Linked DNA regions of Homo sapiens: all the other regions are linked to region 3. The links are contacts of gene promoters, found by promoter capture Hi-C in blood cells and fetal thymus (Javierre and others, 2016). All regions are on one chromosome and are shown on one strand. Each heading gives the region's core, a stretch centred on a gene start or on the middle of the fragment in contact. The rest is flanking DNA. Distances are from core to core; before and after follow the strand shown. Region 1 has its middle 12 kb from the start of PRR9. Region 2 has its middle 7.1 kb from the start of LCE7A. Region 3 holds the start of SPRR1A (small proline rich protein 1A).

What was found. The method cuts DNA at HindIII sites, captures the fragments that hold promoters and counts their contacts. A CHiCAGO score of 5 or more calls a contact.
Region 1: a fragment that was not itself captured here is called in contact with the fragment with the promoter of SPRR1A in region 3 in 2 of 17 cell types (megakaryocytes and erythroblasts); the score reaches 7.0 in megakaryocytes.
Region 2: a fragment that was not itself captured here is called in contact with the fragment with the promoter of SPRR1A in region 3 in 1 of 17 cell types (naive CD8 T cells); the score reaches 5.1 in naive CD8 T cells.

What each region holds. Positions count from the first base shown.
Region 1 is chr1:153,227,764-153,231,233 of GRCh38, reverse strand. No RefSeq gene overlaps it. Among named protein-coding and RNA genes, the nearest start is that of PRR9, 12 kb to the right of the region's middle. The HindIII fragment of the contact is 1,275 bases long and covers 1,020-2,294 here.
Region 2 is chr1:152,851,036-152,854,752 of GRCh38, reverse strand. No RefSeq gene overlaps it. Among named protein-coding and RNA genes, the nearest start is that of LCE7A, 7.1 kb to the left of the region's middle. The HindIII fragment of the contact is 6,660 bases long and covers 1-3,717 here.
Region 3 is chr1:152,981,333-152,985,330 of GRCh38, reverse strand. It overlaps SPRR1A (small proline rich protein 1A), which reads right to left and starts at 1,250. Exons shown (of 2, transcript NM_005987.4): 1 at 1,206-1,250; 2 at 1-119. The coding sequence starts at 100. The HindIII fragment of the contact is 3,855 bases long and covers 267-3,998 here.

The DNA.
Region 1 (3,470 bases), core at 408-2,907, 250 kb before region 3:
AGGCTGTCCTCATCAAGGTCACCAGCCACTCTGCATTTCTTGACCAGTTAGTATTGGTTGACTCCATTGATTTTCCTTCCTTTCTTGGACACCTGTCTTCTCTTGTCTTTCCAGTCTCCACCCTCCTAGTTTCTCTTCCTTCACTGACCGCTCTTTGTCAGCTGGCTGTACAGGCTCCTTCTGCGCTGTCCAACCTTGAGATCTTGTGGAGTCCTCAGCTCGGTAGGGCCCTCTCTTCTTCTCCTTGGGTGATCTCAGCCACTCACATATCTTTAAATACCTTCTATGTGATGACAGCTCTCAAATATGTACATTTTTGGCCCAGATATCTCTGAGCTTCAGACATGTACCCACATATCTCCTAGTCCTCACCTCTCTGCATCCACCTAGTGGCCTAAGCCATAAACTTGGGAGTATTTCTGCCTTCTTTCTCCTCCTTTACCCCACACATTGAGTCCCCCTGCTACTCCTGTTAGTTATTCCTCCAAAACACTTAGCGTCACCCTCTTGTCTTTGTCTCCACTGCTGCCATCTACCACCTTTAGCCATAACTCTAGTAGCAGGTCCTTCCTCTCCCTATTTCATGCTTCCTCCAACATCCAGCCTTTATACATTTTGCAGATGGAATAATCTTTTGAAGCTTTGAATCAAATAAAAAGCCTCTACTGAGACCCCTTCGGGGTCTTCCCGATGCATTTTGAAAAACATCTGAACAGTATATACATGTTGTCTGAGGTTTGATGGGATACATGCTCAGGCAGGTGTGTGTTTATGCCTGTGAACAAACCTAAACAGATGCAGGTGCATATTCACCCTGGCCACAATGTGCCCACCCCAAGATAGCCCTATTGTTTAGGGTCTGGGACCCATCAGTGTCTGGCATCATGCTTGGCATTAGGTGCTCAGCAGGAGCTCAGTGAATGGATAAATGAGCTTTTGGTGTCCTCTAAGTGTAAACTCCACAAAAACAGCACTTTTGGTCTGTTTACTGCTACATCTCCAGCACCTAAAGGAAAGCTTGGCATACAGTAGCTACTCAACAAAGATTTGTTGAATGAAAAAATAAATGAATGAGAACACAATGAGTAATCTACAGATAGGCTTTGTCATTCTGGCTATTTAGGAATCAAAGGTAATGTGTTCAGTGACACTTTTGTCAGTCAATTCACATTCAAGAAAATGTTCCCTCAGATTTCCTCTCACCTCCAGCACGCTGCCATTGCCACCATCATGTAACCCATCATTTCTGTTGCTCTCACCTCAGATCGGCCTTTCCACATTACCCGAGCTAAAGAGCACCCCTCTTCCCTGGTCATTTTGTTTCATTTTCTTCAATTTCTTATTTATGCATTTGCTGAGTTGCTTTTTGTCTGTCTTCCTCCTCATGTGAGCTCTGGGAGGCAGGGATTCTGTGTATCTGGTTCGCTGCTGTAACTCCAGTGCTTGGCTCATAGGAGATTCTGTGTCACTTACTCTCACATAGGAGAAATTTGTTTTAAGGGAACAATAGAAGTGGTGGAGTCTAGATTTGAATTCCAGAAGTCTGATTCCTGAGCCTATGTCCTGAACCATTATTCGTGTTGCTCCCACCCTATAAGTAATGTAACTCTGTCTTGCACATATAGCCTTCCTCTGACTCTGTTAGATGCTGCATCTCTGTACTCTTGTCTTCTCCACATGGAGCATTGACTGGACCCGAGTGTGTGCGGCCATCTCCAACTCAGGCCAGACTGGGTGTGATTAGTAGAAGGCCAAGTGCCTCTATGGCCAGCAGGTGGTGCTGTTGGGAAGAGAAGAGAAAAGGGGTCCCCAGCGGCTTCTAAAGGAGGGAGGACTGGTTATGAGGCTGGCTTGGGAACCGGGTGATGAGGGAGGTTGAGTTGAGAAGGCCCTGCCAGCTGACCACCTCTTTTCTTTCAACCATGAATGGCGGTGGTGGCCCCCACGATACCACAGTCACCACCATCACCCCTGACCGACAACTCCAGAACACCAAGCTCCCCTCTGAGCTGGCCCTACAGGGCGAGTGGCCAGACTCTCACATGCTCGTCAGTTGAGACAGGGTCTCAAGGATGTAACCCAAACTATACATTCATTTAGTGTAAAGGTTATTCCTTCATGCATTATCCCCTGGATAGGCGACCTTAGGGGATGCCTCTCACTCCCTACCCTAGTTTTTGATGAACTCCTAAGCCATAGATTCAGTTTTAGAGATAAGTATAATAGTCCTTAAAGTATGATATTAAACATGACAGAGAGTGTGTCATCAAAGGTATTTCCCCTGGGTTAAAGCTTGTATTTTTAAACCAAGAATATGGGCATTGGAATCAGATGAGCTGGGTTTCAGCTCTGGCATTGATACTTACTGGCCGGATAATCTTGGTCAAGCTGTTAAACCTTTTGGGTCCTCAGATCATTTATCATTCATTCACTCACTTATTCCCATGTACCAGGATCTAATGGCAAACCACTGTGCCTTAGAAGAAGAGAAGTGAGTGGGAAGAGGTTCCAGTATTTGAGCAATCCCTGGGTGACCAGCCTGGCTGGACCCTCCCACCCCCATGCCTGCTCTCCATGTTGTCACTCAGTGTGGGCACTTCCTGATCCTCAGTGGCATTCAGCATTTTGCACACTCTCTCCTTCCTGACTTTTCTCTTAAATCATTGACTCCTTCTTAATCTTTTGCCAAGGGCTCTCTCTCTTCTCAACCTTTAGCTGTTGAGGTTTCTCAGGGCATGGTCTTAAGTTCCCTTCTTTTCTTAATCTATATTCTGTCACTGGATGATCTATACACCCCAAAGCTAGAATGCTACCCCTACGATGATGGCTCCCAAGTGTAGATCTCCATTCCTGAATTTTTCCCGCGCTCCTGACTCATAGATGTAAGTGCTTACTTTGTATTTCTGCTTGGTTATTCTGTATGCGTCTCAAAATTGACAGGTTCAAAACTGAGCCCCTGGTCTTCTTACCTGGACTGCACCCAAACCTGTTCCTCCTTCAGTCTTTCCCAGCTGCTTCTGGAAATGGTGGCTGCTGCTGCACAGAGACTTGGCTATAGCCATGGTGTCCCCAGTGGCTCCCGCTTCACCTCTTGCTTGCTTCCTCTAATCCATTCTCCACACTTTAACTAGAGCAATATTTACAATCTGCAAATTGAATCTTGTCACTCTCTGCTTAAAAATCTTTAATGCTTCACTCTTAGGGCAAAAGTCAAAACCTGTCACGTGGTCTCAGAGGCTTGTGGGGTCTGCTCCTGCCCACACACCTCCTGTCCCTGTCTGGGGACACAGTCCCTCTCACTCTCTATCTTTGTGTCTGAGACAACAATCAGGCTTTTCCTATATCAGAACCATCTTTTGTTTTCACTATAATTTTTTTCTTTTTGTCACCTGGACAACTCCTCCTACCTCTCCAGTTTCAGATTAAATTTTATTTTCTCATGGAAGATTTTCCTGATCTCTAATCTAAAT
Region 2 (3,717 bases), core at 5-2,504, 130 kb after region 3:
GATGCCTGTTAATCCTAAAATAGGAAGGGATGAAGAGTGATCATCTTGCCTATCATTTTCCTCCAGACCCAAGAATATATTTTTAAATAAGAATATATTTCTAAAATCCCAAGAATATGTTTCTGAATCTTCTAAGAAAGGAGACTCCACTGCCTACAATGACAGAGCTTTCTGACTCCTGTGAAACTTCATGTCTTTTTGCTGATGTTAAAGATGAATTCTACCAACTAAGGTGAGCAGAACAGATCTTTGGCTCCACCGCCCTCCTATTCTTGGAAACAGTTGTTCTGATGATATCTCTGGCTCATCACAACTCCATGCCTTTGATCTCTCCATCATTTTCTCCACTGTGCCTAAAGGAGATAACCCAGCTGGACTGTATCTCTCATCCTGCAATTAACACATCTTAAGAGAAAGGTAGGGAAGATGAATCCCTCTTATCACCACCCTTCACCTCAAAGCCTGTTTTCAGTAGTGTTTTTACCTAGGAAAGCCACTACAAAACTCTTAAGGGCATGGGGGGACACATTAAGAAGCATTAGGCAAGTTGCTCAATCTTTCTGGAGCCCACACCTTCACCTGTGACACCAAGACCCCGTGTTCCATCACTCTGTGAGCCTGTAGTTCTAAACCATTCATTCTTTTAGTGATGGTGGTCACACAAGGGAAGCCCCTCACATCCCTCCATGCATTGCATTTCACATGCTTTGTAATACGTTGTATTACATTTCACATGCTTTGTAATGCATTGTATTGCATTTCACATGCTTTATTTTCTCTTCTTAACAACCTTGAGAGTTTGTTATTATTGCATCTAGAAAAACTGAATACTGGACAGTTAAAAGTAAGTGCATATCACACAGTCTGTAAGGGTGCAGAGCAATAAGGCAAGCCCGGCAAAGAACTGCGCAAAGCAAGGAAGCTGTCCTGGACTCTCAGTGCTGTTGTAGATCAAGAATTGCAAACCTGGTTGGGAACATGAGCCATCTTGGAAGTACTTTTAAAATGCAGATCCCGGCCAGGTGTGGTGTCTCACGCCTGTAATCCAAACACTTTGGTTGGCCAAGGCAGGGAAATCACAAGGTCAGGAGATTGAAACTATCCTGGCCAACATGGAGAAACCCCATCACTACTAAAAATACAAAAATTAGCTGGGTGTGGTGGTACGCGCCTGTAATCCCAGCTACTCGGGAGGCTGAGGCAGGAGAATGGCTTGAACCCAGGAGGTGGAGATTGAAGTGAGCCGAGATAGTGCCACTGCACTCCAGCCGCCTGGTGACAAAGCGAGATTCTGTCAAAATAATAATAATAATAATAATAAAATAAATGAATAAAAAATAAAAGAAGCAGACACCTGGTCTCTAACTAAGACCTACTGAATCATAATCTCCAAGGAGTGGGTCTTTATGATTTACATTGGTTAACTATTTCCCAGGTTATTCTACCTAGTTTGGTAGCCACTGTCCTGGCATGTTCTGGTAGAACCGTAGAACTATAGCCAGCCCATGAAACATTCTGGTAACAACATTTTCACAGTCCTACCACCTTCCTCTGAGCTCCTCTAGGGATCTTCCTAGGAAATTGAAAGATGCAGGAAGCATAGTAAACTCACAAACTTATTTAGCCTTGCAGAGGCCTTAGAAAGAATGTAGTGTGGTTTTCCACCAGGAGCTTGTATCTCCTCACCCACATGCCTAGTGGTGAGCTTCCTGGCCTAAATGAAAATGCTTTTAGTTGGAGAACTCATTACCTCACAAGGCAGTCCATTTCTTTCCACATTGTTATCTTTGTTAGAAATTTTTCTCCAATAAAATAGGAACACTTTTACACAGTTGGTGAGACTGTAAACTAGTTCAACCATTGTGGAAGACCGTGTGGCAATTCCTCAAGGATCTAGAACTAGAAATACCATTTGACCCAGCCATCCCATTACTGGGTATATACCCAAAGGATTATAAGTCATGCTGCTGTAAAGACACATGCACACGTATGTTTATTGCGGCACTATTCACAATAGCAAGGACTTGGAACCAACCCAAATGTCCATCAATAATAGACTGGATTAAGAAAATGTGGTACATATACACCATGGAAAACTATGCAGCCATAAAAAAGGATGAGTCCATGTCCTTTGTGGGGACATGGATGAAGCTGGAAACCATCATTCTGAGCAAACTATCACAAGAACAGAAAACCAAACACCGCATGTTCTCACTCATAGGTGGGAGTTGAACTATGAGAACACTTGGACACAGGGTGGGGAACACCACACACTGGGGCCTGTCATGGGGTTGGGGGAGTGGGGAGGGATAGCATTAGGAGGTATACCTAATGTAAATGACGAGTTAATGGGTGCAGCACACCAACATGGCACATGTATACATATGTAACAAACCTGCACGTTGTACACATGTACCCTAGAACTTAAAGTATAATAAAAAAAAGAAATTTTTCTCCAAAAAATGCATAAGATCAGATCATAAAGAGGTAATCACTATAATACCTAAATAAAGCAGTTCTTTACATATAGCTGGTACTTACTAGGGGTTCATTGAATGATTGAGTTAATTACAAATAAAATATTTCAGTGGGCTTGGTTATAGGCCTTCATTTTAGAAACAAGAGTTGGAGGTTCACAGAAGTCACCTTACTTAATCCACAAAGTTAAAATAGTGTCAGAATCAAGACTAAACCTAGGGTTGATTAAGTTCCAACCCAGTGTTTATGACTAGGGGTGGATGGAGGAGGAGCAGGGATGCAAGGTAGCAAGAGGAGAGCATGCCCATCCAGCACTACACTTCTGGGAGCACAGCATCACACTTCTGGGAGCACAGCATAGCAGCTCAGTGTTTAGTGTTGGTAGCCAGATTTCCTAACTTCAAGCCTAGGTTTCGTCACTTACTGGTTGTAAACTTTAGGCTTGTCACTTGACATCTCTGCCTTAGTTGCTGGTCTGTAAAATGGTGATAACATCTCCTTCATAGAGGTGTTGTGAGAATTAAATAAGTAATATGAGTAGAGTGCTTAGAAGAGTACTTGGTACGTAGTAAGCACTATATAAATACAGATTGTTGCTGTTCTTCTTCTTCTTATTATTATTATCATTTGTTTAGCTCAGTGTCCCTCAATGATGGGGGCCTATCTCTTTATTTCTCCCATGATTTATGAATACCCATGAATGCCAAGAGAGCATGTTGGTGACTAAGCAAAGCTGGTTTCACAACACTCTCCCTAATCCACTCTCAGGACCACTTCCATTTCTTATAAAAAATCACCCCAAGTCACATATAGATTGGGGCTGCAGCCATGACAATGGATACTGACATGGATTGGGCAAGGATTCAAGGTTGGAGTCTTACACTTGGGGAACCATTTTCACATATCAGGCTTATTGTATAAAGCCATAATAGGGAAAGTTTCCTAAAATATTTACCTGTAGGCTGTGAGAACAAACTGGACATTAGAGAAGCCATTAGAGTTAGTCCTTGGTCTAGGCAGGGGCTGAGTTCTCATTAGATTCAGGGTGCCTCGATCATTTCTACTCCTCCAGCAATCAAAGCAGGGCAGAGAGATTCTGACAGAGATAAGGATGTAACTCCAGGACTGACTATTAGAAAGATAAGGAGGCACCTCTAGGTCCATGTAGGGAGGGCATATTGGAGCTCAGAGGAGGAGGATTGGGGCCAGTGAGAAACAAGGACTTGAGAGAACTGGCAG
Region 3 (3,998 bases), core at 1-2,500:
TGCATGGTTCCTGGGGTGGAGGCTGGCAAGGTTGTTTCACCTGCTGCTGCTGAGGCTGAGGGGGTGGGGTGCAAGGCTGCTTCTGCTGCTGAGAATTCATGCTTCAAATGTGTTTTTTTCTAGAGACAGAAAGCTGACACAGTGATTCAATTAAAGAAAGATGGATACAAATTCAATGCCAAACAGATTTTATTTCAGGACCCTTTAGAAGAGAAAGCCTTTCATCTCCCTTAACTCCCCCATTACATTTAAAAATGAAATAAGCTTGGATAATTTTCAGGCCCTTTGAAGAGGAGGAGCTAAAAGGCAATTTCTTCTGCTCCATTTTATTGGAGTTCTCTTCTTGGCTCCCTTCCTACCCAAGGCAACTTATATCTGTTCTGGAAAAATGCCCTACTAAAGCTGGCTTCTGAGGGACATGAGGTCCGCATATTAGGTCTTTTGGAAAATGGCATCAGACCACTTTCCTCTCCTAGTACCATGTAGAAAGCCTGTGACTTATAGGATGGCTTTATATTCATCTAAGCCTCTATGGTTTTGCTTCTGGTCTGTGCTTACACAGTCCCTTCCAAATGCTTTTCTTCCCATCTCTGCTTGTCCAAATACCCCTCCATCATAGCTCACATCACTTGACACCCCTAGGAGGGTCTCCTTGAGCAAGGTCTCCCAAAAGTGCACAGCCCTTCTCTGCCCATCTCCGTCATGCCAATTACTATCTACTTTGCATTTCATTTATTTATATATATGTATTACCTTCCTGCTAGGTTTTATGTTTGTTAAGTAAGTACGTTAGGCATTGATTTGTCCAAAGTGCCTAGCATACTGCCTTAAATGGAATAAATGCTCAGTAGAGATCCATCTAATAAATTAAAATTTCTATAAATATCTTGTCAGGGGGAAATTGCAGTGTTACTGAGAGTGCTCTGGGCCTGAGTTCTAGTTCTGCTATGAACTTCCCATGGGCATTTGAACAATCTTCTCCAGGACTCCCAGTTCAATGACTATCTACTGAGGTGGGAGCCCTAACCATCTCTAAGGTCCTTTCAAATCCAGACTGTAATTTAACTTAAAATAAAGATATTCCACTATTCTCTATCTCCCATTGAAACCCTGGATTAACCTGCTTACACATATTTGCCTTTAGCTAATTTCTAATAATGAAAAAGTACACTAGAATTGCCAGTTTGTTGCAATCAGAGACTTACCTGGTATACGGAGCAGAATGGGCTGTGTGGTCCCTTGGGTTTGGTGTGAAGGCAATGGCCAGCTGGCTTTTATAAGATGAATGAGCCCTGCCTCAAGGAAATAGAAGCTCTCGGGCACTCTGTTTTCATTCCTCACCTGTCACACATGACTCACACTACCATCCTCATCACCGGTTGGCTCAGCTTTTTTGATGAACACCACCTGATATTTTTTGGCACTGGCTGGCTGAAAATGATGTCACTGGCCTAATTTTCACTGCCACCCTCATCCTCAGACCCAGGTGCAGGGCTTGCCTTGAGGGAGGGGTGAGCAGCAGGCTTCATGGAGGGTTTCATGAGTTAACCCTGGGGGGACATCTGAGTCCTGTTGAGGCCTTGCCACCTGCTGTCCTTGTCATTGAGATGGTTGTTCCCCGTGTTCTGTGGGACAGGGCACTCTTGCACACATGAATAGGTGGGAAAGGGAGGGGGAGCAGAGGAGCTGAGGTGGGCCCTCCTTGTCTGCCTTGGTGAAGGTGGAAGCTAGAAATAATGAAATGGACTGATTATAGACCCCTTGTCTCAGAGTCCAAGACCCTTCCATCCATTTCCCCCATCTTTTTCCCAATTCCATTAAACTACACACATTCAGAATAATTTACTTATGACTCTCCCACTCTCACCTTCCTCCCCCTGACTGGTTGCTAATCTGGGAAAACCTGCTTTCCTTCACCAACCACACCTTTACCCTTCTCCTACTTCAGGGACTTTCAGGGGCTAATCCTTCTTCTGGGATCACTTTTTCCCTTCACTCCACCCAGACATCTGGCCCTGGCCTTTTCCTCCTTTCTGATCAGGCTAGACTGCCCCCCACCTGAAAACCCAAAAGCCTTTTCTACCTGCCTCCCTGCAGCCCATCCATGGGGTCCTCAATGCTGAATCCTTCTCCACTTTTGCCCACTGCCAGCTCCAGCCCCAATACCTAGAGATCCTGCTGGCTGCAAGGTTTTCCTCCTCCTTCTGGGTCTGTATCTCCTGGGGGCTTTCCGAGGGTCAGAGCTGTTCCTGCTTAAAGCAACGGTGTCCCCACCACAGTGTTTATTTCCTCATTTATTCAACAAATCTCAGTGGGGAGCCTAACATATGCCCATCATGCCTGTCATTCTAGGAGCTCTCTGATGAGGAAGCCCACTTTTCCTCTACAGATCATGAACTCCCCAGGGTAAGAGACAGAGCACAGTTGAGAGCCACTGAGATTATGGATCTCAGAGAGCCTTTAGTTCACACTCCTCAAGGGATGATTGGGGAATCTGAGGCCACCAGAGGTGAAATAACTCACCAAGGTCAAAAAAACAAACCCTAGGAAGAAAAGAATTTTACACAGAAATCCTGTGTTCTCCTTTGTTTTAATTCCTTGTGACTCCCTAATGTCTATGGAGGAAATTAAGCCCAGGCAGAAAATTGATTAGAGGTGGAAAGGGGAGCCCTTCCTGACTGAGAGCTGGGTCACTTGTAGTTCTGGAAAGTTTTAGGAGTGACAGCGTGAGGACACAGAAAGAGCCTTGCCTTGTGGGTAAGCCTTAATCGGTGCTAAGATAAATCCCTTTAAGTAGAAATAAAGATGCTTAATATTTGAGTGGCTCTAAACAGTGGGTGTTTCTAGCTCTGCTAAAGTAAGAAGGGCATGAATTAGAATAGGTGGAAATAAGGTTCAGTTTATCATTACTCAGGGCACCAGGGTCGGAGAAAGGAAGGGAAAAGCCAAAACTAAAATGTCTGCTTCTATCCTGAGTTGCTTTCGCTCTAGGGGAGCTCTCAGAGTGACATCGTGACACAGCTGAGGTGAAGGCACTGGGGGAGGCAGTAGGTGATAAGCCCCTGAGCACCTGCACATGCTTGCCTTCACTCCACGATGGTCAGATTCTGCCCTGCCAAGGAACTTCTCTTTCCTGGGGACACAAGAACAGGGGTTCCCTCAATCTTTCCATAGGCAATTGCCATAAAACTGAGGTCTCTGATTCAGAGCTGCACTCAAAACACAAACTGTTACTAGGTGTGGCCTTTGGAAAATCCAAATCATCCTTAAAACTCAGGTGTTCAGATGGTTCCTCCTCCTCATCTAACCCCTCCTTTACCCAAACACACACCTAAATGTTTGTGGAGCACCTGCTGGCTCCACAGCCAGTGAACCTGAGGCCAAGGTCAGCCTCCCACTGTGTCCATGCAGCCATTGGTCCCTATCCATCTCCATCCTCACACAGTGCCTGGCGTGCAGAAGCTGCTTGGTGACTGGCATTTATAGACCGACTGCCTGGCTGGCTGGCTGGCTGGCTGACTGAATGAATGAATGACTGAATGGCGTTATTTGTAAAGACAGGCTGAGAGTCTACTTTGAAACCTGCCTAGAAGCTCCGGTACACAGTGTACCTGCTGCCCTCCCCACCCACCTGCCTCACTGTCAAACAGTTTAATGCCCCACCTTGCTCCGGGCTGGTGCCAGCCCCACCAGGACACCTGAGCTCCAAGACTCTTGCCTCACTTAGCTCTCCTCTAGGTTTGTGCCCAGGTCCCCTTCTTCACCAAGTCCCCACCCAGGAGCCCTGACAGCAGGGGCTGCTGGAACCTGTTGCTATGTCTGGTAGGATTCTCAGCCCTGCAGGAACCTGCTGCCTAGTTGTCTGTCCTCTGGTGTCACCCAGCTTGTCTCAGGCCCTGGATGATCTGAAGCCACCTCTGAAGCTGGTGTGTTCTCATGCCCTCCCTGGACCTTAGCCCTGGATGCAAAGGAATTTCCTTCTCCCTGGTTATCAGCTC